3 separate regions of the Homo sapiens genome follow, and all the other regions are linked to region 2. The links are contacts of gene promoters, found by promoter capture Hi-C in blood cells and fetal thymus (Javierre and others, 2016). All regions are on one chromosome and are shown on one strand. Each heading gives the region's core, a stretch centred on a gene start or on the middle of the fragment in contact. The rest is flanking DNA. Distances are from core to core; before and after follow the strand shown.

Region 1 (2,700 bases), core at 185-2,684, 2.1 Mb after region 2:
GGATGTGGTGGCTCACACCTGTAATCCCAGCACTTTGGGAGGCTGAGGCAGGCAGGCAGATCACTTGAGGCTAGGAGTTTGAGATCAGCCTGGCCAACATGTGGAAACCCCGTCTCTACTAAAAATACAAAAAATGAGAGGCCAAGGCGGGCAGATCACGAGGTCAAGAGAACACCCACATTGTGAAACCTGTGTCTACTAAAAATACAAAAAAAATAGCTGGGCGTGATGGTGCGCACCTGTAGCCCCAGCTAGTCCAGAGGCTGAGGCAGGAGAATCACCTGAACCCAGAAGGCAGAGGCTGCAGTGAGACAAGATCATGCCACTGCACTCCAGCCTAGGTGACAGAGTAAGACTCTGTCTCAAACAAAACAAAACAAGCAAACAAACAAAAACTACTAAAAGAGTATGATTGGAATATTTGTAACACAGAACAGATTAAATGCTTGAGGTGATGAATACTCCACTTACCCTGATATGATTATTATGTATTGTATGTTTATACCAAAATAGCTCATGTACCCCATAAACATACACACCTACTATGTACCCATAAATTTAAAAAAATCTAGAAAATGATCAAATCTAAAATCTAAGCTAATTTCTATTTGAACTAAGAAAAATTGTTTTCCTTAAAAAAAAAAAAAAACGCAGATAGGGTCAAAACCCAAGATGAGGCTGTCTTGGAAGCAGAGACAGCACACAGGAAGCCCCATCAGACACAAAGGAAGCCTATGAGACCAAACGTGGGGGCAGAAGACAGAAGAGCCGACAGCTCATTTGTTTCCCTGGGAGTTCCACTAACGAGTGGCAAGGATGGAGTGCTTGCCTCCCAGTGGGCTGCTGGGTGGAGAGGAAAGCCGAATAAAGCAAAGCCTCTCAAAGCAGGCAAAGCATGGTAAAGGCTGTAGTGGAAGTGCCAAGGGTCAAGTTAACTCATGAGAAAAGCTTCATAAAGGTGGCAATCCAGCTGGGCCCAAGCCAAAAGCGTAAGTAATCAGAATTAGAAACGGTGGAGGAGTCAACCCCTACTGAGACAGTTCGGGTTCTCAGCCTGAAGGAAAATGTGGAAGTTGGAGGTTGTGGAGTTTGTGGCTTAAGCCACAGCCCCCTCCTACACCTGGCCTTAGCTCCCAGGATACCTGCCCCCCACTGGGCCAGGCCACGGACTTCCCAAAGGGCAACCACATAAAGCACAGGACCTTCCACCACTCACACTTTCCAGACCTATCCCTGGCCACTATTTCTTCCCTCTGATGTCACAGGGCTCTGCATCTTGTCCCACCTCAGCAAAATTAGACCCCCTGGTTTCCCAAGAGATGTCATTTTTAACTCTTTTCTACAGGCGCCTGGAGCACAGGGCTTCCCAGAAGTCTGATTCAATGCTATTTTGAGCTGGGTTAGATTGGCAGAAATGAACCACCCACCCTTGGAAAAGTCACACTTGGGAAAAGACTGCCCCAGCAGAGGTGGACTGGGAGCTCTTTCTCAGCATGAGTTTGAATGGGGGTCATATGGAGCAAGGAGACGCTCACATAGTTTCTGCAAAGCTGTGCTGACAAATAGCTCTGGACAGATCCAGACCGGTTCTGTTCACCCAGCTGTTATGCCGCTTCTGCCTGCAAGATGAGAAAGACACCTCCCCTTCCCAGGTTGGCATCATTTATTGAACCATGGCTTTGGAAAGAACAACAAGTTCAAATCCCGGAAAGAAGCTGAGCGTGAATTCCAGCCGGAGGCCCACCAATGACAGCCCTGTCTTGCTATCCTGGGGGGCATGGCATGGGTGGGCGGGGTGCGATGGGGTGGAGGGAAGGAAATCCAAGCACCTGTGGATGCTTACTGCCTTACTCTGTCCTCCTGGCTCCACGTCACCCTTCCTTCCTGCCTGACGTGATCAGGGAAATCTGCGGGGTTAAAGAAGCTTCTAGAAGCCACTTAGTCCCCCTGCAGGTAGATGCTTTTTTTAAGGGTCTCTTGCTCACTTTGAGCATTCTAGAACCACAGATGCAGCCTCTCAGAGTGGTTACCCAGCACCAACTCAGGGGCAGACCATAGTGCCCAGCCTTGTTACAGCGAGGAAGGTGACTCTCAATGGACTGGGGCTCTTGAATTCCTTTACCCTCAGACATACATCCTTCCAACCCCATCATCCCACGATGGTGACAGGGTCTGTGGTCAAGGGAGGGGGTCAGGTTAGGTCAGTGCAGTTCTTCAAGTCGGACCCCAAGCAGGCAGCACCAGTCCCCAAGAGTAGGGCTCGGCCAGAGCTGCTCCCATCAAAGGGAACTGGGTGGGGCCCTGTTATCCAGACACAAATATCTGCTGGGCCCCTGGGACCCAGGGTGTCCAAAGGTGGTTCTTTTCCTCCCTCAGAAACTTGGCCCAGGGCCTTTCCCAGCAAGTGCCTCCCCCTCCTCCCGCCCTCGGGTTCCCTTCCCAGCCACCCACTCAGTGAGGGCTTCAGCACGTGGCTGTGTGGGGCGGCGGGTTTCCTCTCCGCCCCGGCAGCTCTGCAGAGGGTGGTTTTCGCCCTCTCTTCTCCCCCATCCCCCGTGACTTCTTGTAAAAGGCTCCGGCGTCCCCACCCACCTCCGCCCTCCCGCGGCTGCCAGACCGGTGCCCGCCCCCGCCTCCCCCGGAGGCCGCGCTCTCTCCCCGCCCCTGGCAGCGGGCTCTGCTTCGGAAACTGTTGACTCA
Region 2 (2,700 bases), core at 127-2,626:
TGCTTGATCTAGGGGAAACCCCAAATGCATGTCTCCGGTAAATTCCATTCCTAGATCCATCAGTCACTGATGAGTTCTGGGAAGTGGACTCACAAGCCTGAGGACCACCACCACACCACACATCGCCACAGGAACTTTATCCTAAGGCCTGGTGGCTCCCCCAGGCGACTGGGCCAGGAGCAGGAGCAGAAGCAGGCCTCGGGCCTGCGAGGTTACAGGGTTCAACACGTGGTATTTTTCGAGCACAGAACTGCACTTCCTCCCCAGGCTGGGGCGCCGGCAGGAGCTCCGGGTGGTGGGAGCGCCTCCACCTCTTACCCACGGAAGGAGCTCAGCGTTCAACGCCCCAGAATCCCGGGGCCACTGGCGGGAGCGCCGCGGAGGAACCGAATCTCACCCACCCTCCCGGCGCGTCATCACCCTAAAGTTTGAGAGCGTCTGAGGCCGAGAAAATGGTCGCAAAGGAGGAAGTAGCCGGGCGTGTGGCTGCCGGCAGCGCGGGTCCCCGCCGGCTCGGGAAACGCGGCTCCAGGGACCCCGGCGCCTTCCCGCCGGCCGTCGCGGGGTGACATGCCCTCCCGCCCCCCTCCCCGGGCCCGCCGGCCTACCCCGCCCGCCGCCGCCGCCCGAGCCTCATGGCCGCCCGCCCGCCCGGCCGACCGCGGAGCCCGGCGCTCACCGTCCGCCGGCTGCTGGAAGTTCACATACGCGTAGCCCAAGGAGCGGCGGGTGATCATGTCCCTGCAGACCCGGATGGAGAGGATGGGCCCGGCCGGGCTGAACTTCTCGTAGAGCATCGCCTCGGTCACGTCGGGGTGGAGGTCCCCCACGTAGAGCGAGGCCATGGGGTAGCTGGGGGCACTGGGGTTCATCTCGGCACGGCTGCCCGCAGGGCCACAGGCCGCGACCTTTCCGTGAGAGGAGGAGAGCGAGTGCCGGGGCTGGGGGCCGGAGCCGGGGGGAGGGGAGCGGGGAGCAAGCGCAGAGGGACAAAAATCAACCGGAATTGAAAACTACTCAACGGCCGCAGAACGGGGTCGATCCACTGCCGCTGGCTGCCGGCTGCCGGCGGGGAGCGAGGGTGGCGGTGTCGGGTCCGGGCAGCGGGAAGGCCTCGGTCTCTTGGTTCCTTCTTGGAGCTGCTGCGGGGCCGCGGGCGGGCGGGTCGGTCTCGGCTGCTTCACCGGGTTATTTTATAAAAGAGGAAGAAAAAAAATAAAAGTCTCCGGCGGGGGAGACGCGGATTTTTTGTAAATTTTTTTGGGGTTTTTTAAAAGATTTTTTTAGATTTTTTTTGGATTTTTTAATAATAAATGTGTGTTCCGAGCCCGGAGCACACACTCCGCACTCTCAGCACTAACCGCCGGGGAGAAGGGGAAGCACCGCCTCCTGCACCCTCTACTTATACCCCGCGCCGCACTCGCCCCGCCCCCGCGCGTCTGACGCCAGGGCCCCTACGCGAGCGTCAGCGCCGGAGTAGGAGGAGACGCGGAGGCCAGGGGGAGGAGGGAAGAGAAAACAGGAGGAAAGAGCAGAGAGGAAGGGAGAGGTGGCGGCGGTGGAGGCTGCGGTGTGGGGGTGGGGCTCGGGCGAAGGGGCGGGGCTTTTGCGCAGGCGCCGCGGCCGGGGAAGCGGAGCCCGCGCTGCGTCGCGTCCGTGGGGGTGGGGAGGACGGCTCGCGGGCGGTCCTCGGGGGTGTTGGCTGAGGCGTCCCCGCCTTCCGCCCCGCCCGCCCCTGCCTCCACCAGGAGGAGCGTTAACCCGTCACCGCGGCGGTGGGCGGTGCAAAGGGCTTCCGGGTTCCTCCGCGCTAACCACCCCCCACGTGCGCGGCCGCCTGTGGCCTCTTCCCGCTGCGGCCGGCCCGGCTCCTCTAGCCCCAGCTCCGGGGGACGCCGGGCACGGGTGAGCGGGCGTGGTCCCCTCCGGGCCCGGTTTCCGAAACGTGCGTAGATGGAGCCAGCGTGGCCCCCTGCTCTCTCCTACCCGGACCGCACTACGAGTCCCAGCCGGCACCGCCGCCACGCGCGTCGGCCGCAGAAGCGGTGCCTGCTGGGAGCTGGAGTCCCCAACGGCCGCGGCGCTCGCTGACACCAACTGGCTGCGCGGGTCCTGGCCGCCCGCTCCGGGACCCCCCAACCGTCCTGCGCGCTGGACCCCGGCACCGCTGGAGCTCCCGGCGCGGGGTTGGGGGGCAGGGAGAGAGAGGGGAGGGCCCCTCGGGTTCCTCGTCCTCTTCTTTTCCAGCCCGACCCTCCTCCGTGTCTTCACTGGACGTTGTCGTTGGTCAAAGTGGCTTTAATTTGGGATAGCTGTGTTGGGGGTCTTTGGTCACTTCTTACCTTAAGGTGCTAGGCTGGAATCATTGATTTGTGCTGCTTCTGCCAGACATTTCTTGGCGATAGAAACCAGGAGTGGAGAAAAGTGAATGTTTTTCCTGAAAGTACGGGTTTGTCACAATCACTACTATATGGCACCACAGCCCTGCAACCAGACAAAATTAGGAATAGTCTAAAACAACGTCCTTATAAATAACTAAAACAATTCTGCACATTAGTAGTGGGTTTTAATAGGAATGCTAAATTTAACGAATTGATAGTAATAAAAACCGGCTCTAGGAATGACATTAAATCAACATACAAATTCCACTCGAAAGTAGTAAAGTGCTTTTACAGTTTTTAAAGCACTCGCGTAAACATA
Region 3 (2,846 bases), core at 257-2,756, 2.6 Mb before region 2:
ATTCCCTTCTGCTGTTAGAGGACCACTGCCAGTTTGATTTCCTCATATTTTAGTCTGGACCCAAAGCTCAGGGATGTTCCCAAGGTTATCCTAATCCTCCAGCACCAACCTTTTCTTGGACCATTCTAATACTGAGGGGAGCTAGAGTTTCTATGGTGTTCTTGTCTAGCCTTGCTGGTGAGTTCTGATTCAAGCAGGTAACAGTAGGTTAACTAAGTTGTTTTGTAAAATATTTGGAATGGCTTTTAATGCAGACCGATCTGAATCATGTGCTTCACTAGCCAGCCAGTTCTGCAGAACTCCATTTACTTCCTTCATACTGTTTAATTTGAAAAATGTTTTTGCATGTAGATATAGCTGTCTTTCATTTAGTTGAAATTAGTGGAGTGAGACAGTGAAATGGCATCAATCCCTGCTATTTCATTTATTATTTAAGAATAATAGCTACCATAAACTGAGCATTTAGTTAGCATAAAGCCCCATGCTAAGTGAGTTGTGTATATGCATTTTGCAAAGCCAAAACCATGTACAGTATGTATATGTTTGTTCATTTTTTTATTTTGAGACAGAGTCTCACTCTATCGCCCAGGCTGGAGTGCAGTGGCGTGATCTCGGCTCACCACAATCTCCGCCTCCTGGGTTCAAAGGATTCTCGTGCCTCAGCCTCCCGAGCAGCTGGGATTACAAGCGCATGCCATCACACGTGGCTCATTTTTGTATTTTTTTTTTTTTTTCTTGAGACGGAGTCTTGCTCCGTCGCCCAGGCTGGAGTGCAGTGGCGCGATCTCGGCTCACTGGAAGCTCCGCCTACCGGGTTCACGCCATTCTCCTGCCTCAGCCTCCCGAGTAGCTGGGACTACAGGCGCCCGCCAACACGCCCGGCTAATTTTTTGTATTTTTAGTAGAGACGGGGTTTCACTGTGTTAGCCAGGATGGTCTTGATCTCCTGACCTTGTGATCCTTCTGCCTCGGCCTTCCAAAGTGCTGGGATTACAGGCGTGAACCACCGCTCCCGGCCTCATTTTTGTATTTTTTAGTAGAGATGGGATTTCACCATGTTTGCCAGGCTGGTCTTGAACTCCTGGCCTCAAGTGATCCACTCGCCTTGGCCTCCCATAGTGCTGGGATTACAGGCATAAGCCATCCCACCTGGCCTGTATATAATGTTTAATTCTCACAGCAACTTGTAGAGGAAGAGGCTGAGGCTGAAAGTGAGAAAGTAATTTTCCTAAGATTATGTAACTAAAAAGTGTAAAGAAGGAATTTGAACCCACATCTTTCAAACTCCATAGTGAAAGCCCTTAAACACTATACCATATAGGCAAGTCTTAATTTTGTGTGAGGTCTTGCATTGGAAAAGGAAGTAAGTGAATGGGGGGTAATTTAGTGGCTCTCAGTGGAAGTGGGCAAATTCTGATGTGGCTGGCATTTTGGAAGTTTGTGTAGGTGTTTTGGTTGGCATAATTGGGCTAACATTGCTGGCATTTATTGGGCAGGGACCAGGGATATTAGACAGCCTGCTATGTGCAGAAAAGCCCCACAGTAGCCCAGTACCTAATTTATATAAAATTATTGGTTACACGGGTTTTTTTTTTTTTTTTTTTTGAGATGGAGACTTGCTCTATTGCCCAACTTGGAGTGCAGTGGTGTGATCATCTCGGCTCAATGCAACCTCCACCTCCTGGGTTCAAGCGATTCTCCTGTCGCAGCCTCCCGAATAGCTGGGACTACAGGTGCGCGCCACTGCACCCAACTAATTTTTTTTTTTTTTTTGAGATGGAGTCTTGCTCTGTTGCCCAGGCTGGAGTGCAGTGGCACGATCTGGGCTCACTGTAAGCTCCACCTTCTGGGTTCACACCATTCTCCTGCCTCAGCCTCCTGAGTAGCTGCGACTACAGGCGCCCGCCACCATGCCTGGCTAATTTTTTTGTATTTTTTTAGTAGAGACGGGGTTTCACTGTGTTAGCCAAGATGGTCTCGATCTCCTGACCTCATGATCCGCCCGCCTCAGCCTCCCAAAGCGCTGGAATTACAGGCGTGAGCCACCACGCCCGGCCCACCCAACTAATTTTTGTATTTCTAGTAGAGATGGGGTTTCGCCATGGTGGCCAGGTTGGTCTCGGACTCCTGACCTCAAGTGATTCGCCTGCCTCAGCCTCCCTAACTGCTGTGATTATAGGCATGAGCCACCGCACCTGGCCTGGTTACACCGTTTTAATATGCACTGAATTTTCCAGTAATGCAGTAAATCAAAGCAAGTTTGTACTTTTTTTGGCAGGGTGGCGGGGGTGGGGGTAGTTTACTAAGGAGTGTTGACCAATTTGGAAAATTACGTCATTAGTGGCATTGCTACCTTCTCTTTGAGGCACTGGTACAACACACCTGTGCTGCTTTGCCTTTGTAGCTGTTGAATTCATGGTAATTTTATGTATAGGTAGAAGTAAAGACTGGTATTAAAATACTGAACTGCTTTGAGAACAGCTTGGTAAATACCAGCTGCTCTGAGCTTCCCTACCTCCTAGTGTGTCCATGTATAGGGCCCTTCGGATTTCCTGCAGTTAGCAATGAAAGAGTTAATCACTGGTACCTTGGGGTTGAAGGGCTTCCAGGACCATCCAGCTTTATGGATTGTGCCAATGCCTGTGCTGGTGCCTGTGTGGATGTTATTATTCCCTGGGTTCAAAATCTATTCATAATATCATCTAGTGTAGTTGTGGTGAAATAGTTACATACAGAAATACATATTATTTTATTAAAATTACTTCTTAGGTCTCCTTTATGTTACATTTAGGGCATCTATTGTAGGGTATGTCTCGATATGTGTCTAATAGGTTATAACATTCATT

What was found. The method cuts DNA at HindIII sites, captures the fragments that hold promoters and counts their contacts. A CHiCAGO score of 5 or more calls a contact.
Region 1: a contact is called between a fragment that was not itself captured here and the fragment with the promoter of PABPC1 in region 2, in 4 of 17 cell types (fetal thymus, total B cells, monocytes and 1 more). The highest score is 8.6, in fetal thymus.
Region 3: a fragment that was not itself captured here is called in contact with the fragment with the promoter of PABPC1 in region 2 in 1 of 17 cell types (neutrophils); the score reaches 10.9 in neutrophils.

The regions. Positions count from the first base shown.
Region 1 is chr8:102,803,924-102,806,623 of GRCh38, forward strand. No RefSeq gene overlaps it. Among named protein-coding and RNA genes, the nearest start is that of GASAL1, 1.8 kb to the right of the region's middle. RefSeq lists a silencer at 2,534-2,700. The HindIII fragment of the contact is 976 bases long and covers 947-1,922 here.
Region 2 is chr8:100,720,712-100,723,411 of GRCh38, forward strand. PABPC1 (poly(A) binding protein cytoplasmic 1) reads right to left here and starts at 1,377. Exons shown (of 15, transcript NM_002568.4): 1 at 680-1,377. The coding sequence starts at 872. RefSeq lists silencers at 554-663, 1,344-1,423, 1,504-2,213 and enhancers at 616-1,448, 1,503-2,003, 2,004-2,504. The HindIII fragment of the contact is 6,173 bases long and covers 1-2,700 here.
Region 3 is chr8:98,119,928-98,122,773 of GRCh38, forward strand. The region is part of intron 1 of POP1 (POP1 ribonuclease P/MRP subunit); the gene reads left to right. Among named protein-coding and RNA genes, the nearest start is that of POP1, 4.1 kb to the left of the region's middle. The HindIII fragment of the contact is 5,033 bases long and covers 1-2,846 here.